4 separate regions of the Homo sapiens genome follow, and regions 1, 2 and 4 are each linked to region 3. The links are contacts of gene promoters, found by promoter capture Hi-C in blood cells and fetal thymus (Javierre and others, 2016). All regions are on one chromosome and are shown on one strand. The core of a region is centred on a gene start or on the middle of the fragment in contact, and the rest is flanking DNA. Distances in the headings are between cores, read along the strand shown. Region 1 overlaps UBE2D3 (ubiquitin conjugating enzyme E2 D3). Region 2 overlaps UBE2D3 (ubiquitin conjugating enzyme E2 D3). Region 3 holds the start of SLC9B1 (solute carrier family 9 member B1). Region 4 holds the start of LOC124900903 (small nucleolar RNA U13).

Region 1 (4,902 bases), core at 1,720-4,219, 220 kb after region 3:
GTAACTTTGATTTTAGTGAGTTGTTGGGAAATCCTTTAGATCATTAGTTATGCAGCAAAATTGCTTGGCTTTAATAATCATATGTACTGGCTTATTCTTTCTGAAGGTAAGCTACTTCGGAAGCACAACTATTGACTAAAAACTAAACCTTCGAAAGAAATGACAGCATTGCTAGTTTTTTGTGTGCGTGGGTTTTTTTGGGGAGGGGGGCGTGGGGTACTGTATTAAGGTTAGTTTCCAACAAGAATTGATGTAATTAGAAGAAATTGACTTCCTTACCTATTGCCTCTGATATTTACTTGCTTAAATTTTTTTTTATTGGAAATCCAGAAAAAGTGGATTTAGAGAACAACACTAACTCCCACCTAATCTATGACAGAGATGTAGAAGAGAGTACCTGTGAAAAATGTGAAAGTATCTGAAAAATGTAACCTTTGGCAGCCTGAGCATAGTCAACCAGAAAAACTATCTGAATTAAAATAATTGGTCCATAGGTACTATTTTATTTGGTCCATAAGGATTATTTTTTCAACTTTTTTTTCAAGTGTATTATTATGTCATTTCCCACGTAGGTTACTGATACCTGAAGACTTTTTCCACCTTTAACCTTACTCGTTGAGGAGCTTTGTAGTCTAATAAAAGAGAAATATAAGTAAATGTTAGATATATGGGTGGATAATGGTAACTATGTGCTTAAAGAGGTATAAAAGAAGGGTAGGGAGCAGATAAGACAAAGGAAGGGCTATATTATAAGGAAGAATATTCCAAGTAGGGAAGAGAAAAAGATATGTTATCCATATAATATTTTATGTGCAGTAGAGAACATGTTCTATAGAAGAGACAGAAGATGAAACTAGATGGGCACCCAGATCATAAAGCACCGTATGTACTTAGGAGTTGGAATTATCTTAAAAACTATCATAGATTTCAAGCAGGGGAGTAACATTTTTAAAAGACCACTTTATCATTAGGATGGAGGGATAATCATTAGTAAGCTATTGCCATAATCTAGGCTGAAGATAACATCATGAACTAAGATGGTAGTGACAGTGGGCATAAAGGAGAAGCTAATTCAAGAAATTTTAAAGATCTTACTTGATAACTATCTTGATTCTGAGATAAGAGAGGAAGAAGTTGATGATGAGATCCTGGTTTATGGCTTTCAGTTATGGCTTGCTATTAATAAACAGGAAAAAAGGGATTGAGACAAGTTTCAGTTTTGGACGCATGACATGAGATATCCAAGTAGAGATATCCAAGTAGAAATATCAGTAGGCATTTGAATATATGCCCTGGAATGAATAACTGACCAGAGATATATTTTGCAACTCAAATTTTTATGGGTCAGCAGTTAAGAGTAGAAAATCAACCTATAAGAATACCAGCATTTTTAGCTGGGTGTAGTGGCACATGCCTGTAATTCCAGCTTCTTTGGAGGCTGAGGCCCGAGAATTTACTTGAACCTGGGAGGTGGAGGTTGCAGTGAGCCGAGATCACACCACTGCACTCCAGCCTGGGCGACAGCACCACTTTAAAAAAAAAAAAAAAAGAATACCAACGTTTTATTGCCACAGAAGAGCTGAGGCACTGTGAGGGAGCAACTTTGCACTGATGAGAGCAAAAGAAGTAGAAGGTTTCTGAAAAAATCTAACATAAATTCTGGACTTGTACGATTTGAGTCGATTTGCTGATCACAGTGTTCCTTATTCTTTGGGGATTTTGTTTCTTTTTGGTGTAGTTTGCTGCTGATTCATAATAGAATTTAAATATCATAGGGTCTCAATTTTTTATATTGCCTAGTTTCATTATCTCTGAACCTCGTAGTTCTTCCTCTTTTGGCATGGCAGAACTTTAGTGTTAAATTGTAACATTGAAATATTTTGCCTTCTTTATAAAGTTCTTTTTTCGAACAAACGAAACGAAATTTGGCTTTGCCTAAATCCCATCAGCAGATTGCCTTTATTCAGAAGCAGTCATAGACAGCATTTGATTTTATGAAAATTGAAATGAAAGCTTACAAAGAACTTCTGGAATTAGGTTATTAAAACTTCAATGTTTGGGGCCGGGCATGGTGGCTCACGACTGTAATCCCAACACTTTGGGAGGCCAAGGTGGGTGGATCACTGGAACTCAGCAGTTTGAGACCAGCCTCTCAACTAAAAAGACAACAAAAACTCCGTCTCTACTAAAAAGACAAAAAAAATTAGCCAACTGTGGTGGTTCACTCCTGTAGTTCCAGCTACTCGGGAGGGTGAGGTGGGAGAATCACTTGATCCCAGGAGGCAGAGGGTTGCAGTGAGCCAAGATCGTGCCACTGCACTCCAGTCTGGGCGACAGAGCAAGACCCTGTCTCAAAAAAAACAAAAACAACTTTAGTGTTTGGGATTACCTTTAAATTGTTAATTTTACACAGAAAAAACATATCTTGTATAGTATTGGATCAGGTGAAAGTATATGCTATTTGAAGCATCTATTCAAAATTAATATAACTATTTAATAAAGACATGTTAATCTAATAAACTCAGGTCACATTCTAAGTGACCTGAGTGTTTTTCTAGTTCCATATTTTGTAGAAAATATGAAAAAGGACTGGGCACGGTGGCTGATACCTGTAATCCCAGCACTTTGGGAGGCTGAGGCAGGCGGATCACCTGGGGTCAGGAGTTAAGAGTTCAGCCAACATGGTGAAGCCCCATCTCTACTAAAAATAAAAAATTAGCTGGGCACGTTGGTGCACACCTGTAATCCAAGCTACTGAGGCAGCTGAAGCAGGAGAATCTCTTGAACCTGGGGAGGCGGCGCTTGCAGTGAGCTGAGGTTGCACCATTTTACTCGAGCTTGGGCAACAAACAGCAAGATGATATTCTGCGTCTTGTTTGTCCCCCTTCCCGTTCCCATTCCCCCCGCCCTCCACCCCTACAAAAAAAAAGGGGGAAGACTTGGGAGATGGAGAAGGACTCACTTTAAATAAGCTCTGGCTGGGTACAGTAGCTCACACCTATAATCAGCACATTTTGGGAGGCCGAGATGGGTGGATCACAAGGTCAGGAGGCCGCAAGACTAGCCTGGCCAACATGGTGAAACTCAGTCTCTACTAAAAATACAAAAATTAGCTGGGTGTGGTGGTGCATATGTGTAATCCCAGCTACTTGGGAGGCTGAGGCAGGAGAGTTGCTTGAACCCAGGAGGCAGAGGTCGCAGTGAGCTGAGATCGTGCCACTGCGCTTAAGCCTGAGCGACAGAGTGAGACTCCGTCTCAAATAAATAAAAGCTCTTCCATTTACTAGTTGTATATTTCTTTGAACCTGATTCTTCATTAATAAATTGACCTTTCTTCTTTGAACTCGTGTCCCTTGTTCATATTTCATGATACCTATAACATTTCATTGCAGTTACTTTACATGTCTATCAGTGTAAGCTCATCAAGATAAAAAAAATTGTTCTTTGGATCCCTTAACACACATACAGTATATAGCAAGGGGTTAGATTAATTGAATTAATGTTTATTTATTTTACAGAAGGGTAGGAATTAGATGAGCTGTGTTAGTGTCAGGCCTGTTTTTTATGTGCCTGACATCCAGAATGGGCATAGTGAAAGGCTCATATATAGCTGTATATACAAAGCCTTTCTAATAGAGGGGAGTCAGTGTTGGTAAAAACCCAGTTCATGTAAGTTGTAAAACATGTCTTCGGATTGGTTCTTTGCATACCCAGAAGCAGTTAGGCATTCCACATTTTAACTTTAAATTCCTGAGTAGGTCAGTATCTTTGATCATTAAGTGGTCTTCAAAAGACTTGTGTTTGAATCTTGGTTCTATCATTTACCATTTGTACACTAGACTAAGTTCTTTAAGCCTCATTTTTCTCATGCATAAAATAGGGGCAATGCATGTATTTTCTGGTATTGATTAAAATGAGAAGCTTAGGCTTTTCTCTGTTCTCCTCTTGAAGGTGGTGTGTGTGTGTTACCTGGAATAGCTAACATTTGGTTTGCCAGTGGGCAGAATGGACTGTTGTGAAGCCATTTGTACACATCTGGCTATTGGAAGAAATAATCTACATGTGTAAAATTTTGTTTACAGATTATTCTGAAACATGATTATGTAGGCTTTATTGCTGTGTTGTACTTTTGAGAATTGAGATCTAGAATACTTGCGTTTCTGGATAACTTTTTAAAAAAACATTTTGGTGACGTGTAAAATGACTAGATAAATTAGGGTTTATTACTGTATAAGTTTTAAGTTTTTTTCTATTACTATAGACTGAATTTTCATGGAATAGATTATTTATTGCAGTGTAAATAGGTGATTTGGGTTCATTATTAGAGAAATGCTTGGAAACAAATGTTACGGAATATTTAGCAATAATATTTTAAATTTGAGTTAAGCATACTTTTCTTTTTACAGAATGACAGCCCATATCAAGGCGGTGTATTCTTTTTGACAATTCATTTTCCTACAGACTACCCCTTCAAACCACCTAAGGCAAGTATTTTCCCTCAAAATCTGTTAGTATAGATTTATGCTTTATTTCAAAGGAATAGAGCATTCTTGGAAGATAGGGTTCTGTGTAGGCTGTATATATATGTTGAATTGCACTCATGTATAGATGCTGACTCTTAACCTTTGGTTTAAAGAGCTAGACCTCAGTTTGAGCTTTGTAAATAGGAATAAGGTTTGCCTTTTCTTTAATGTTGCAAGATTCAGACCATGTGGAAGCTTCCGCCCTCATCTGTATTATTGTTACACAGATTCTGATTTTTGGGCTTTTGTTGTCTTGTAAGCATCAAATGTCCAACTTCAATTTATATTTGCACGTATTGTTACAGCATATGCTTATTATGCTTATAGTTTTGTATACGTAAGTGTAAATTTGTGAAAACTTAGAGTTGCTTAGTGCACT
Region 2 (4,918 bases), core at 2,188-4,687, 200 kb after region 3:
TGCCCCGCACCCACCCCTTTCTCCTACGCCTCTTCCTCTCCCACCCGGGTCTCTTCCTTTCTAGAGGCCGGGAAGTTAAACTTGTAGCCACCACCTCCGCTCTTCCCGTCACCCTCGCCCCCACTTCGGGCCGAAAGCACGGTACAGAGGCTGTTGGTGGCTTTGCCACGCCACCCCACCCACCCCGGATCGCGGCTGTCTTAAGGGACCTGGATTCATCAGGGGCTCTTCGGGGCCTGTGCGAGTGCTGATCTGCTCCGTTTTTGCAAAAGGCGCCTGTGTCTGGCAGAGCTGGTGTGAGACGAGACAATCCTGCCCCGCCGCCGGGATAATCAAGAGTTTTGGCCGGACCTTTGAGCATACACCGAGAGAGTGAGGAGCCAGACGACAAGCACACACTATGGCGCTGAAACGGATTAATAAGGTAACCCGCGGGGACAAGGGCATGGGGTGGTAGGAGAAAAGGAAGGCTCGGGCCAAGAGGAAAGCGTGGGGGTGGGAAGGAAGCATAATTCTGAAAATACCTCTTGGATCACTTCTTCCATGGGGGGATGGAGAACGCAGATATACTTCTTGAAGAAATGAAGTTTAAAGCTAGGAAACGGAGAACACTTGTGGCAAGTGAGGTGTTATCCTGAGTGCTTCAGTGGAATCGGTGCAAATTAGGGGTGGAGGAGAGTGACTTAAGGCGCCTTTATTATTTTATTTTTTTGCTGCTTAAGAAGGAGTTTTTTTGGGGGTCCGAATTGCGGAGAGACGCTCCAGCAGATGTCATGGCGCTTCCTATTCTTGGTGCTTGAAAACTTAGTTTAGTTGTGAGATCAAGGTTATCTAGGCCTTCTAGGGGTAAGAAAGAAAACTCGGAGGAGAGAAAAAAAATCTGGCGAGTCCCGAACTTGACTGAGGGTCGGGTAGAAGAAGTCTTGCGTATTGAAGGTCAGTCAGTGAGTCTAGTAGAAACTCTTAGTCGACTCTGGGCAGGTTACACCGAATAAGTGGGTTTGGGAGGAGATGGAATGACACAGTGTTGCCACTTCCTGTATTTTGTAGTTGCAGCTTTTCACCCGAAGCTATTTATCCGAGGGACACCGGGAACTGATGTAAAAGGCATTCTGGAAGCTCCCTTTTCCTTTTGGCTGGAGAGTGGGGGTGGATAAGGGGTGCGATGGCAGTAAGGGAAAGCTAATGTACCTATTTTTGCCTCATTCTATTTAATAACACCCTTGTTTCGTTACTTGAAATGTGGTTTGATAGTATATTATCGATTTAAGTTGAAAAAAAACTAGGATTTTTCGGAGCTCTGGGAGTGAGCGGAACCTCCACCTCCGGTGGTTTAGTCTCATTTTCTTGCTCTAACTTCTATCCCGCATTTTAAGATGGCGGCTGCTTTAACTGGTTCAGGCTCTTTCCGGCATCTCCTTTCGTAATAATGTGAATTAATATGATTTGTTAAATGTTAACTTTTATATCGCGTTGTGCACTGCTCTAAGATCCTCTGCTCAAAACTTACCTAAATTCAAACTCTTAAACTGTATTTCCCTTTTTTGTGACTTGTATTTGTGTGATGTGTTTGGTTGTTGCACAATCGAAGAGGGTGGAGTGTTTACAGCTAACTTGAAAAAAATGTCATGGAATAAATTCAGCCTTACTAGAAAAATTGTGGAGTGTCGGTGAGTGTTAGAAACTTTGGTTTTAATAGATTACTTTTTTAAAAAGAGTTCTGAGAGGAATGGCAAGAATTTGCCTTTACTAAAATAGACCTGATACTACATTTGCCTGTATTTAATTATGACTGGAGTTTATTTGGCAAGATTGGTGTTTCATGAAAGAGGAAGGTTTAAATCTTCACTCTTAGTATGTATTGATATGAAATCGTGAATTTTGTTTTGGGCCTTCATAACATCGTCATTTTGGGTTATGCGAAATACAAATTTAAATCTTTGTGAAATGAAAGAAAAGAGGAAGAAACGCTTTTTAGGAGTTAAGGATTAAAGTAAAAATTATTTTGAAATAATTACCTCTTTTTGTGACCACTTTAAAGGCCAGGAACATATTGGAGAAGCCTAGTTGTATGTTACAGTGTGGTTTACACAAAGAGCATAACATTCAGTACAAATAAAAATCTTTTCTGTTGGAATTAGTTCAGGCCACTAAAATGTGGAATAGTACCAGATCCATAGCTTTTTGTGCATGTGGAACAGAACACGTTAAAGGAAGGCCTCTGATTTTTTTTCTCTTACAGGTCATACCCAGCTGCTGTGACACCACTTAAATGATTTAAAAGCTTTAGAGAGACAATATAACAGTGGTTAAGAGTGTAAACATTGGAGCAGAAATGCTCCAGTTAGAATTCTAGCTCTGGGCAAGTTTATGTGCCTCTATAAGAAGGGTATCTGTTGTAATATGAACAATAAATGACTGTGTGCCTAATATGTACCAGGCACTGTTTTAGACATTGGGGTGGCAGCAGTGAACAAAACAAATTTTAAGTTCCTAGATTTGTTTTGACGATTAAATGGATTAATGTGCAAATTTGAACAGGCTCTTGGCACATGACACTCCTAGTTATTACTGCTATTTTAATATCACAATTTATAATTTTTAAAAATCGTTTTTGTTTAAGAACTTTGATTTCTAGTTTAGTACTCTTAGTTAACCAGGTTGTCTCCTTTTGTAAATATTTTGAAGATTTATGTAATATAGACACAACATAAAAACTTGGCATATTGGAAAAACCAGTGTTTATGTGAACATTATTGATTCAACTTACAGAAACTTTGACGTGTGCATGTGGTTTGGTTTTTCAGCTGTTAATGTTAAAATCACATGAGGCAACTTTCAAACATTCCACATCCAACAATTTTAGTGAGTGGACAGCTCTGAACTGGAATGCTCTTCGGTTTAGGCACCTCTTCTAGAAATATGGGGTCAAGTAGCCATTGATGTCAGTATGGTATGCTTGTGTTACGTACCTATTTCGAATTTATTCTTGTCTGAAGGTCCCACATTTCAAGTATTATGATATATCTGTATTCCTCGTTAATATTTTACTGAAATGATTATTGGAATAGTTTTAACCTTTAGTCCATTTGATCGAGCTTTTGAATTTATACTTTGCTTCAGCTGTGTTCTTGGAGTAAGTTTTTTGACTGTTAGACCAATCAACTTTTTTCCTGTATTCTTTATTTGAACGAGCTGTAATATGGTCTTAAATAGGGCTATTAAACAACAGGAGTTAAAAGTGGCACTCCAAGTTGATTGGTATTGAGAGCTGTAGACAATTTTACCACTCCCATTAAACAGGGACTACAATATATGTGTTTTAGGGACGTTTGAAGATAAATATGTGAACCAAGCCTAAAAGAATAGCTCATGTTTTCATTGTATACACCCTGTTAAGTTTTCGTAAGGGTTTTTATTTCTGGAAGTATGACTTTAGTGTTTATATATGATTATAAGCAAGCGGCTAGCAGGGAAACCATGGGTAAAGGGTTAAAAAACTCTCATTTGATCTTCGTTTCCCTCCTACCACCACTTCCACTGAGATAATTTCAAGATTATCTCCATCTCGAAATTGAAAAACTTAGGCATAGAGGTTAAGAAGATGACCCAGGTTCATGTTGTGACAGTTGGGATTAGAACCTAGGCAGCCTGGTCCAGAGTATGTGCTCTTAACAACTACAGTTTGATATCATCCTTTAGTTTTTTTTTGTCATTCAGAACGGTTTACTTTTGCATATAGTATTATCTATTACAGTAGTTAAGACAATGCAGTCTCATCTAAACCCTAACTCATTTAATCCTCAAGACAACCATGTGGGATAGATGTGAGAATTTTATAGATGAAGTAACAGGCTCAGAGAAATAGTCGTCTAGTCACACAACTAGTAAGTGACTGGGATTCAAATCAGATAGGCACCAAAAGCTCAAGCTCTTTTTTGAACCATTTCAATTCCTTTTTTTGTTGTTGTTGGAGACGGAGTCTCACTGTGTTACCCAGGCTGGAGTGCAGTGGCGCGATCTCAGCTCACTGCAAGCTCTGCCTTCTGGGTTCACGCCATTCTCCTGCCTCAGCCTCCTGAGTAGCTGGGACTACAGGCGCCCACCACCACCCCCGGCTAATTTTTTTGTTTTTTTAGTAGAGGCAGGGTTTCACCGTGTTAACCAGGATGGTCTTGATCTCCTGACCTCGTGATCCACCCGCCTCAGCCTCCCAAAGTGCTGGGATTACAGGCGTGAGCCACCACGTGGCCTGGCCCTTCAATTCCTGTTTTATAATGTATGTGATTTTAGTTTGTTACCTGAAATAAGCTGCTTTGCTCTCCCACTTATACATCTAAGTAATTGGGAGTTAGCTTTACTCTTAGGTTATAGCTAATTTGTGAGTTAAGATTTTGGCTAATAATATTTTGAAAGTAGAAGTGGATTTAATTCTTTTGGGGTAGTCTCTTCAAGCACTGAAAACTAACATGTGCCAGTTAACTGCTTAGGATGTCTTAGAGTGAACAAAATATATTTATTGTCCCCAACTAGTATATAGGCTGGGTAAACTGTCTTGCATGTGTTTCATATATGGTCCTCAAAGCTTGTTGATAGCCAGCTCACTTTCTGTGTAGGATAGTTGTGACTGAAGGATGCTGATAATAATAGGACCTCAGTATTTGTTTAATTTGAAAAAGGATGCATTACTGACACTGCATACTTTTCTTTCATCATGCTCATCTGCAGTGTTGATTCTAGTTTTTGTTATTTATACAAATAAAAAGTTGAATGCTCCATCACTGGGATGAACTACTGTGTCACTAGATTGCTCTGTCAAACTTTGCCCCTGAGTTTAGGTGACCCTTTTTATCCAAGACAGGCAATCTTTGAGGATTCTCCACAGCATGTTGCTATAATCTATCTATTAAAAAAGAAA
Region 3 (4,880 bases), core at 1,468-3,967:
ATCATCAACTGAATTTGTTGGGTGAAAGGCAACATAAGTATTTCATATTTGGCTTTTATGATGCTATGTAGATTGAAGAATTTTTTTGTATATAATGAATGCTAAGCCTTCATGTTTATATTCAGATATTCATTTTGCAATGAATAAAACAGACAAATCCCTGCCTTCATGGAGCTTGTTTTAAAATCCATTTACTCCCTCACTCAGAATATATTATAACATGCCTACTGTGTGCCAGGTCTTGTGCTAGATACTAGGGAATACAGTGATGAACAAGATATTCAAGGGCTTGGTTTTCAATAGAACTTGATTCTAGTGGAAAATTGACAATGTGAGGAATACAAATATGAATAAGACATGATACTTGCCTTTAAGAACCTTAGAAGGAAATAAGATATGTACAAATAGCTATAATCCAAGTGAATAATTCAAAAGTGTTTTTAGTGTAGAAGTTGAGGAAATCTTAGAGGAACTGATACTTGAACTAGACCTTCAAGAATGGAGAGGATCTGGATGGATGGGGTAATATTAGGGAGTAAGGTGAAGATGGGAACAACTAGTGTGGGAGGCTGGCATATTAGCAAAGTTTTGAAAACAGTAAAGCCTGGAGCATAGAAAGTGATTGGCACTTGAGATTGATGAAGAGAATTAGAGATAAGACTAGAAAAGAAAGTTGGCACTGAAATCATACTAAATAGATCATTGGCTAAATATTTTTATTGAAGTACTTTCAGAAGTATGAAACTATGTAGAAAGTGTTAAAACTTTTTTTATCATGTCATGTATAGTTTTAAAAAATTGCTCTCAGTTAAGATTCTCCTTATTCCTCAAAAGCTTTTGCTTTCCATGACTTTGTTGCAAATATAATCAATTTACTTATTTTTAAAACTTAATTTTTATAAGAAAGGTTATCAGATGATTGTTTAAATGTTTTTTATTAGTAAATTTTCATTATATTGTCTCCCAAAGAACCACTGTATTTTTTTAATGTCTCAGAACATTATATTTTTATATGAATCATTTATGTACCTCTCTGTAACAAGTGGGAATTGCTTCATGGCATTTGGGGAGTACGTAATATTATATTTATAGTTGACTGACTCAAATCCAGCCTGAGCCCTCTGGCCTGGTGAGAATTCCAAAACTCCATTTGTTGATGTGCGCTCCATCTTCCTTACATGGACCCTAAAGCACTTACCTCTCCAGGAGCCCATTCCTTCTAGAGCATAAGAGTAGTGCCTTGGAGGCAAACAGACTCCTAGCAAAGGTCTTCCTTCCCAGGTTTACCATTTGTCCCAACTCCCATTATCTTTAGGGATCTACCTGCTTTTCCTGTGAGTACAAAACATTTCCTTTTCATGAGTACAAAACATTTCCTTAACCCTATAATCATGAAACCCTGTCTACTCTCCTGAAACGAGGAAGAAAAATAAATCCTTGCTGAGATGTCTATAACACGTTGAAGGAGGGAAGGTGTTAAAAACAATAAAAAGGGCAGGGCTGTGGTGGCTCACGCTTGTAATCCCAGTACTGTGGGAAGCCAAGACGGGCAGATCACTTAAGTCCAGGAGTTCAAGTCCTCCTGGGCAATATGTGAAACTCCTCTCTACTAAAAATACAAAAATTAGCCGGGGGTAGTGGTGCCCACCTGTAGTCCCAGCTACTCAGGAGGCAGGAGGATCGCTTGAACCAAGGAGGAGGAGGCTGCAGGGAGCCTAGATCGCACTGCACTCCAGCCGGGGTAATAGAGTGAGACCCTGTCTCAACAACGTCAACAAAACCAATAAAAAGATAATTTCGTATTTAAGTTACCCAAGAAGGAACGGTAATTTGGATCAGATCTTAGATGATGACTAAGAAAAAGAACACTCCGGTAGAGGAATTAACTTTACAGAACGCACTGAGGCAAAAAGGAATACAGTGTTCAAGAGTAAACATTGAGTGTCAGGAGAAACATTAGATAGGAAAGGGCAGTTTGTCTTTCTAAGAAGTTTACACTTTCTCCAATAACAGTTGTTTTTGTCTTTTATAGGAAGCGCGGATTCTATTACTGGAAACTTTGGGACTGAAAGGCCAAAGCTTCTGGGCCCACCATCAACGCAGCTCCGCTTTCATTTCTTTCACATACAACTTTCCACATAAGATTTCATGCGGAAAAAAAAAAAAAACTCACAAAGGTTTTATACTGATAACAGTATATTAAGTGTTTACTTTGTACACAGCGTCTTTGTTCCAGACACTTGCCATGTCTCATTTATTCTCACACCACCACCACAGCGTCCTTTACAGATGAGAAGACAACCTCAGGGAGACGATGTATTTGCCTAGGTCCCATAGCTAGCAAGTGACAGCGCTGCAGTTTAAGCTCAGGCCGTCTTGGGGAGAGACCGTGCTCTTCTACCATTGCACTTTAAGCTGACTTTAGGGGAAACACAATCTGAGTTTTGACAAGTTTACTTCTGGCACATGCAGTCCCGAGCACTGCTTTTTGGCTAAAATGCCCAGTGATGTCAACTCTGTCCCTGGATTTCTACAACCCGATGAGTCAATATTCAGAAGAGACGTCGAAAGGAAAGGGTTCAATAGACAGAAAACACACCAGACAGTCCCAGAAACCCCAGAACCCTCGCCTCTGCCGGCGCGGACAGCCAAGACGTCACTTAAACGCGCTGCCGCCTCCTCGCCCCGCCCCGCCCCTGCGCGGAAGTCTATCCGGGCTTTCGCGTCACCACCCTGCCCACCTGGGTGGCGCGTGGCTTACGCAACGGTCACTGGGCTCCTGGGCCGCTCCCGGGCCAGCGAGGGCTGCGAAAGAAGTTGTAGGTACGGCCCATTTTTCTTAACGCCGCCCTTCCAAGCCCTTTGGCGCTAGTCCCGGGTCTGCCGCGATCGTTTCCTTGCGGTAGGCCGCAGGAGGGCCTTTCCTCCCCCTCAGTTCAATGGGATTCTTGGGCTCTTCTCCCAGACGCTGAGGGAACAGCCACAGACATTGTCTCTCCTCTCCGTGACTCCTTTCCTTACTCCGTCATCCCACATCTCTCTTGTTTGTTCTCTTTTCCTCCTGTTTTTCTTATTTTACAAATACTCGCCAGTAAGAAAGAAGAGATCTGTCAGTTAAGATTGACCTCAAAATTAATTTTATTAAGCGTGTACTATTTTACAAACGGTGGATCCCTGCAAATAAACCTTCACATACATGCTCCTGCGACTGGAGATTCTGGGATTGGTTGCCGATCCTGAGAAAGCTCTCTTCCCCCACCCACCCACATCCACGCCCCTTAATCCTGTTTACTCCTCTTGGCTTTAACCCAGGGGACAAGCACTTCCAGCAGTCCCCAACCTTTTTGGCACCAGGGATCAGTTTCATGGAAGACAGTTTGGGGTGGGGGGCAAGATGGGATGACACTCTTCTATCTCAGATCATCAGGCATTAGATTCTCTTGAGAAGGCGCAATTTAGATCCCTCACATGCGCAGTTCATAATCAGGTCTGTGCTCCTATGAGAATCTAATGCCTTTGCTCATCTGACAGGAGCTGGAGCTCAGGCATAATCCTCTAGCCCTGCTCACCTGCTGTGTGGCCTGTTCCTAATAGGCCACAAACCTGTACCTGTCTGCTGCCCAGGGGTTGGGGATCCCTGCTTTAGACCAGTGCTTTTGAAGGAAAAAGGAAAGTTGCACACATACTGTGTCTGTCACATCAATCAGTAGTGTTACAAGAGCTCTTCACGGGACCATACCAGGTCCCTCACTCCCCCTCTATGGGTGTCCTAGAGCCTGTGAAATAACAGATTTGGTGATGTGGGGAGACAACTGGCCCAGGTGGCACTGAGGGAGGCCACACCCCACTCTCTGATTTTCCTTAGAGATAAATATAATTATGTGTGCAACAGAAGCATGAAAAATGACACTTATTATTGTCACCCCTAGAGAATTCATGCCCCAAATATTTTAGTCACTGTGTGCCTATGAAAAGGGCATTCATAGGTATTGTCCCCTGTGAGTACCAGAATTTTTTTTAACTTACTTTTTAAAATTCTATACAGATTTAGTTAGTACAAGTTCAGTTTTGTTGTGTGGATATATTGCACAGTGGTGAAGTCTGGGCTTTTAGAGTACCAGAATTTATACTGCTGTTTTTCAGTTGGCTCTTGTCATAAGGTCCTGCCAATTACTAGACACAAGGAAATAGGTGGGTGCTATAGTTGTAACATATAAAGTATCGTTTTTATAGTACTTCTCATTTTGTACTTATTTTTGTACTCATCCTGTTTAAACACTTCTGTTGGTTAACCAAATCCCATGTTACTGTGGTGTTTACTAAACACTGAGATTGAATAGTACCTGGAACATAGTGTAATATATGTTCAATAAATATTTTTTGAGGGAATGAATGGATGAGCTTCTGAAGAAGCCATACCTTAGCCACTTTTGTTTTTCCTGGATCCAGAGCTTAGTCTAGCAGTAGTAAACTCACCAGTGTGAGTTAAGTAGAGAAGTCAAGTGACTTGCTTAGGGAAAGGCATTCATTAAGTATTTTTTAAAGAATATCCTACTTTGTCAGGCGTTGTTTTAGGCATTGTGAATACAATGGTAAGAAAGACTAGCAAGATCGCTGTTCTTATGAAGTTTAAATTCTAGTGAGTGTAAGATAGAAAATAGGTAAACTATATGAGCAAGGAATTTTGGATAATAGTAAGCACAGTGAAGAAGTAAAACTGTAAAGGTCTTCCTTAAGACTGGGGGAGGGGTTAGTTTAGATTGATTGCTTAGTGATATTTTTAAAAACCAACCATGGAAATATTTGGGATCAGCGCACTACAGGTAAAGGCAACTCCAATTGCAAGAGCCCTAAGGAAGGAAAGAACTTGGCTCCTTCCA
Region 4 (5,557 bases), core at 2,423-4,922, 160 kb after region 3:
TTACCTCAGAAGTTTATGGAACTAGCTACTCCAAGCACCGATGAACTAGGCATGAAGAAGGAACCTGCATAATGCTTTGCGATATTGTAGTTGTGCACAGAATAAATGTGAGATTTAATAATGTTACTTTATATATTTAACTGTTTATATTTTGCCTCTGAGCTACTAAACTCAGAGATAGCATTCTGTGTGAAATAATACTATTCAGATTAAAGGCACCCTGACTGACATCAGCAAGTTGGTGGATTAGTAGGTTCCAGCCCTCAAACCCCTGCAGAAATACCAAATACCATTTTGGGAGCCTGGGAGACCTGCTAAGAGGTTCCAGCACCCCAGTAGAATGAAAAACTCAAGAATAGACACATTGAAGAGGGTAAGAAAAACAGTTTCACTTTACCTACATCCTTCTCCTCCAAGGCAGCAGAGTTCAGTGCCAAGAGAGGCCCTTTTGGCCCATGAGTTCTCCCAGGAAGGAAAGTAAGAGTCAAGTGAGTGCCCAGCTTCCCTAGCCTTGCGTGTTGCCGCCCAAAAGGCTCACTTCTGTTTTTCCCTATCCAGAATACTGAGGGACTCTTCACAGATGAATAGTCTAGGAATATCTAGGAGAAGGGAAAAGAAGCAGAGGCTTATAGCAACCAACACATGATTCTTCAGAGCTAGATGTGGAGTCTCCTAACTGGCTTGCAGACTCCACCATAGGCTCACCCATGAGCCCTACAGGACACTTCACCTGCAGAACCCCTCAACTGACAAGCACACCCAGCACTCCATGCACCCACCCACTAGCCAGCAGCCCAACCTCCCCTGCAGATAGTGTATGCAGGCCCCAGCAGATAGCACACAGATATCAGCAACTGGCTCCTGCTGGATTGGAAGAAAGCACACAACCTTGAACACTCTGAGGCACTGCACTAGAGAAAATAAAAGGAGGTTCTCAGCACATAGTCTAGCTTTGTGAGATTGAAAGAAAGCACACAATCCTAAGACTTCCCCTCCCAAGACAGAACAAGAGGAATGGAATGGGCATATCATAGAAAAGGTCTGAGAGACCTTCAGAATCTCTAGTCAGGCTGACTGGTGAACGTCTTTCCCTTCTGAAGCTAGTCAGTAAAGACTGGAGGAAGTGACTCTTTCTTCAGATGCAAAGTTAGAAGACAAGGCTTAAAAGAACACACACACACACACATACACACACACACACACACCAGGAAAACATGACAACCAAAGGAATAAATTAAAGTTCTAGCAGTTGAACACACACACACACACACCAAGAAAACATGACAACCAAAGGAACAAATTAAAGTTCTAGCAGTTGACCCCAAAGAAACAGAGACCTATAAATTACCTGATAAAGAATTCAGAACACTCACCTTGAATCTCAGTGAGCTAAACGAAATCAGGAAAACAATACATGAACAAATGAGAATTTCAACAAAGAAACCACTAAACAATCAAATTCTGGCTGGGCGCGGTGGCTCACGCCTGTAATCCCAGTGCTTTGGGAGGCCGAGGCGTGTGGATCATGAGGTTAGGAGATCGAGACCATCCTGGCTAACATGGTGAAACGCCGTCTCTACTAAAATTACAAAAAAAATTAGCCAGGAGTGGTGGTGGGTGCCTGTAGTCCCAGCTACTCAGGAGGCTGAGGCAGGAGAATGGTGTGAACCCGGGAGGCAGAGCTTGCAGTGAGCTGAGATCACGCCACTGCACTCCAGCCTGGGTGACAGAGCGAGACTCCATATCAAAAAAAAAAAACAAATCAAATTCTGAAACTAAAGAACACAATAACTGAACTGAAAAATTCAAAAGTGAGCTTCAGTGGCAGATTGAATCAAGCAGAAGGAAGAATCAATGAACTTGAAGACAGATCATTTGATATTATCCAGTCAAAGGAACAAAGAGGAAAAATAATAAAGTAAGCCTACAGGACTCTAAACCAATATGCGCATTATAGAAGTGGTAGAGCAAGCAGAGAAAGAGAAAGGAGGCAGATTGCTTATTTAAAGAAATAATAGCAGAAAACTGCCCAAATCTGGGGAGGAAAATGAACATCCAGATCCACAATTCCCAAAGAATTCCATGTAGGTTGAACATAAAGATGTCTTCATTGATCTTTTTGTGGTTCATAAGCATGATGATTGGGTTTTCATACCATTGTGTAAGATGTGCCTTTCTCAGACCTTGCCAAAACACTGGCACATTACCTGTCTGATATGAAAATTTTTTCACTGAGACACATTATGATCAAATTTTCAAAAGTTAATGACAAAGAATTTGAAAGCAGCAGAGGAAAGCAACTTGTCATGTACAAGGGAGCTCCTATAAGACTTTCAGCAGGTTTTTCAGCAAACCTTGCAAGCCAGAAGAGAATGGGATGATATACTCAAAATACTGAAAGAAAAGAAAAGCCTCCCAACTAAGAATAATTTACCCACAAAGCTGTCATTCAGAAAAGGAAAGATGAAGACTTTTCCACAAAAACAAAAGCTGAGGGAGTTCATCACCACTAGACCTGCCTCACAAGAAATGCTAAAACTGAAACTAAAGTTGAAGTACTTCAAGTGGAAACTAAAGGATGCTAATTAGCAACATGAAAACGTGAAAGTATGAAACTCCCTGGTAAAGGGAAGTATAGAGTTACATTCAGAATACTGTAATGTAATGGTGATACATAAAATCATTTTTAACTCTGAGTTAAAAGTATTAAAAATAACTATAGCTACAGTAATTTGTTAATTGATGCACAATATAAAAATGTAAATTTTGACATCGATAACAATGTGGGAGAGGATAGATGAGTTAAAGTGTCGAGTTTTTGTATGAGATCTAAGTTGTTATTATCATAAATGATTAGAATGTATCCCCAAACTAATTGTATTATATACAATATATACAGCTTTACATGTCAATCATACCTAAAGTAGTTATTTTTTTAAATTAACATGCTCTTTCCAGAACCATTACTTTATAGTAACTTGGAAGCTTTTACTACATTATTAATGGATATCAATAGAATATTTTTTAAAGTCGAAAATGACTTTAAACTTTAAACGACACCTTGTGTCGTTTCTGAACATCTTCATTTGATACTCCTAGAGATGCCAAACCTATTTCTTGTGAAAACTGAGCAAGGAAATACCAGGATCCCCAAGTAGTGGAACATGTCCCAAGAGTTCATCACACGTGTCTCTGACAAGAAAAACATCACAAAGAACCGTTATACAAGAAGCCTTAAACTACCACTGGTGGTAGAACAAAACTTAAAATCCCAAATATAACCTTGTTACTATAATAAAAATACTTTTAAGTCTGAATTTCAGATTCATCTTATCAGCATTTTGAGCTGTATGATAACACACTATTTTAATAAAATAGCCACTACTATTTTCAAGTGCTTACTATATGCCAAATCATGGTGTTTTATTTGTACATTATGTGTTTTAATTCTCAAGACAACCTTAAAGAATTAAAGTAACTTATTAGTGCAAGATCCTATAGAGCAGACCACTGCCTGTTTTTATAAATAAATTTTTATTGGAATATGGATACACTAACAAAAGAGATTAAAGGCATCCAATAATAACTTGGTAATGGCTGATCTTTTAAGAAAATACAGGCCGGGCACGGTGGCTCATGCCTGTAACCCCAGCACTTTGGGAGGCCAAGGCAGGTGGATCACGAGGTCAGGAGTTCGAGATCAGCCTGGCCAACATGGTGAAACCCTGTCTCTACTAAATACAAAAAAATTAGCCAGGCATGGTGGTGCATGCCTGTAATCCTAGCTACTCAGGAGGCTGAGGCAGAAGAATTGCTTGAACCCGGGAGGCAGAGGTTGTAATAAGCTGAGATCGCAGCACTGCACTCCAGCCTAGGCGAGGGAGTGATACTCCATCACACACACACACAAAATAAAATTGAATTTAAAAATATATATACATGTTACAGAAATCTGGAAATAAACAATTTAAGAACATAAATAAAACTAAATGCAGTAGACGCATTTCCTGGTTCCTCTGTGTCATGTTAACTTTAAAAAGAAACAACATATTCAACATGTTATGGCTATTAGCATCTTTTCAGCCACATTTCCTTTTGTTCTCATAATTTTTATGCATATTGTTTTTTCCTATTTTTGATTAACACTATGTTTGACACATGATTTCTTTATATTAGAAACTTTAAATTCCACTCAATTTCTAATGTGAAATTTTCTTAGGTATTAGCAAACCTATTCAAAGTAATTTTATTTGCTACCATAGTATAGTCCTTTATTATTTTATGTTTGGGCCATAGCAACAGTCTACCAGATATGTGACCTCTAGCCTCCAATTTTAAAATATTCTATACAAAGCTTTAAGAATAGTTTTTCTAAATGAAGTTTTTTCAAAGACTTTTTAAAGAATAGCTTTAAATTTACAGAAGAACAGGGCAGAAAATACAGATTCCCATATGTCACCCTCTAACCCAACACACACCATTTCTCCTATTAATATCCTGCATTAGTGTGGTACATTTGTCACAACTGATGAACCAGTACTGCTACATTATTAACTAAAATCCATAGTTAACATTAGGGGTCACTCTGTGCTGTATAGTTCTATCAATTTTGACAACTGCATAGTGTCATGTGTCCACCATAATAGTAGCATACATAATCATTTTATTACCCTATAAGTGCCCTATGCTCCACCTATTTACCCCTACCTACCTTATACCCCTGGGTAACCAATTATCTTTTGTCTCTGTAGTTTTGCCTTCTAAATAAAATTCTTCCTGATATTTAAAACCTCAATCTCTGGAGTAGGGCCATATGTGTGAATGAAAAAAGCAAATTGTAGAAAGTATGTATAGTATCCTATTTATAAATTTTAAAAATTACATGTATTTGATTATACATAGAACATTTCTAGAAGGATACCTAGAAAAATGATAACTTCTGAGGAAAGGAGGAGAGACAGTAGATGAGGCCTTTTACTTTCTAGTATCTTATTTTGTTTGAATTTCTTTCCATATACGAATATTATGATTTTAAATATTTTAATTATCAACCTAAAAATATCTCTGGATAAAAAGGTTTTTTCAAAGCATGAAAGCACTAGAAAGCACAAAGGAAAAGTTCTAGAGATTTTAACTGCACAAAAATATTAAAATTCTGTATCTCAAAAGCATCATAAGATCCAATCCACCTGCTATTTATCTATGATGTTCTTTATTTTTTAATTTTTTATTCATTATTATTTTTGAGACCGTCTTGCTCTGTTGCCCAGACGGGAGTGCAGTGGCGCAATCTCAGCTCACTGCAGCCTCTGCCTCCCAGTTGCAAGAAATTTTTGGTGCCTCAGCCTTCCGAGTAGCTGGGATCACAGGCTTGCGCCACCATGCCTGGCTAATTTTTGTATTTTTAGTAGAGACAGAGTTTTGCCATGTTAGCGAGGCTGGTCTTGAACTCCTGGCCTTAAGTGATTTGCCTGCCTAGGCCTTTCACAATGCTGGGAGTACAGGCATGAGCCACCATGCCCAGCTATGATCCTTATTTTAGCTCATATTTTTCCAC

The links. The method cuts DNA at HindIII sites, captures the fragments that hold promoters and counts their contacts. A CHiCAGO score of 5 or more calls a contact.
Region 1: a fragment that was not itself captured here is called in contact with the fragment with the promoter of SLC9B1 in region 3 in 16 of 17 cell types (M2 macrophages, megakaryocytes, M1 macrophages and 13 more); the score reaches 14.4 in M2 macrophages.
Region 2: a fragment that was not itself captured here is called in contact with the fragment with the promoter of SLC9B1 in region 3 in 14 of 17 cell types (total B cells, M2 macrophages, erythroblasts and 11 more); the score reaches 11.6 in total B cells.
Region 4: a fragment that was not itself captured here is called in contact with the fragment with the promoter of SLC9B1 in region 3 in 5 of 17 cell types (M2 macrophages, total CD8 T cells, erythroblasts and 2 more); the score reaches 6.8 in M2 macrophages.

The regions. Positions count from the first base shown.
Region 1 is chr4:102,802,143-102,807,044 of GRCh38, reverse strand. It overlaps UBE2D3 (ubiquitin conjugating enzyme E2 D3), which reads left to right. Exons shown (of 8, transcript NM_181891.3): 5 at 4,407-4,484. Among named protein-coding and RNA genes, the nearest start is that of UBE2D3, 23 kb to the left of the region's middle. The HindIII fragment of the contact is 1,908 bases long and covers 2,016-3,923 here.
Region 2 is chr4:102,821,991-102,826,908 of GRCh38, reverse strand. It overlaps UBE2D3 (ubiquitin conjugating enzyme E2 D3), which reads left to right. Exons shown (of 8, transcript NM_181891.3): 2 at 273-424. The coding sequence starts at 401. Among named protein-coding and RNA genes, the nearest start is that of UBE2D3, 3.1 kb to the left of the region's middle. RefSeq lists enhancers at 1,044-1,113, 512-1,711. The HindIII fragment of the contact is 2,301 bases long and covers 2,287-4,587 here.
Region 3 is chr4:103,017,542-103,022,421 of GRCh38, reverse strand. It overlaps SLC9B1 (solute carrier family 9 member B1), which reads left to right and starts at 2,717. Exons shown (of 12, transcript NM_139173.4): 1 at 2,717-2,823. SLC9B2 (solute carrier family 9 member B2) reads left to right here. Exons shown (of 12, transcript NM_178833.7): 12 at 1-169. RefSeq lists an enhancer at 2,376-2,876. The HindIII fragment of the contact is 6,332 bases long and covers 2,082-4,880 here.
Region 4 is chr4:102,856,053-102,861,609 of GRCh38, reverse strand. LOC124900903 (small nucleolar RNA U13) reads left to right here and starts at 2,114; the gene lies at 2,114-2,217. It also overlaps a transcript of UBE2D3 not described here. The HindIII fragment of the contact is 1,369 bases long and covers 2,988-4,356 here.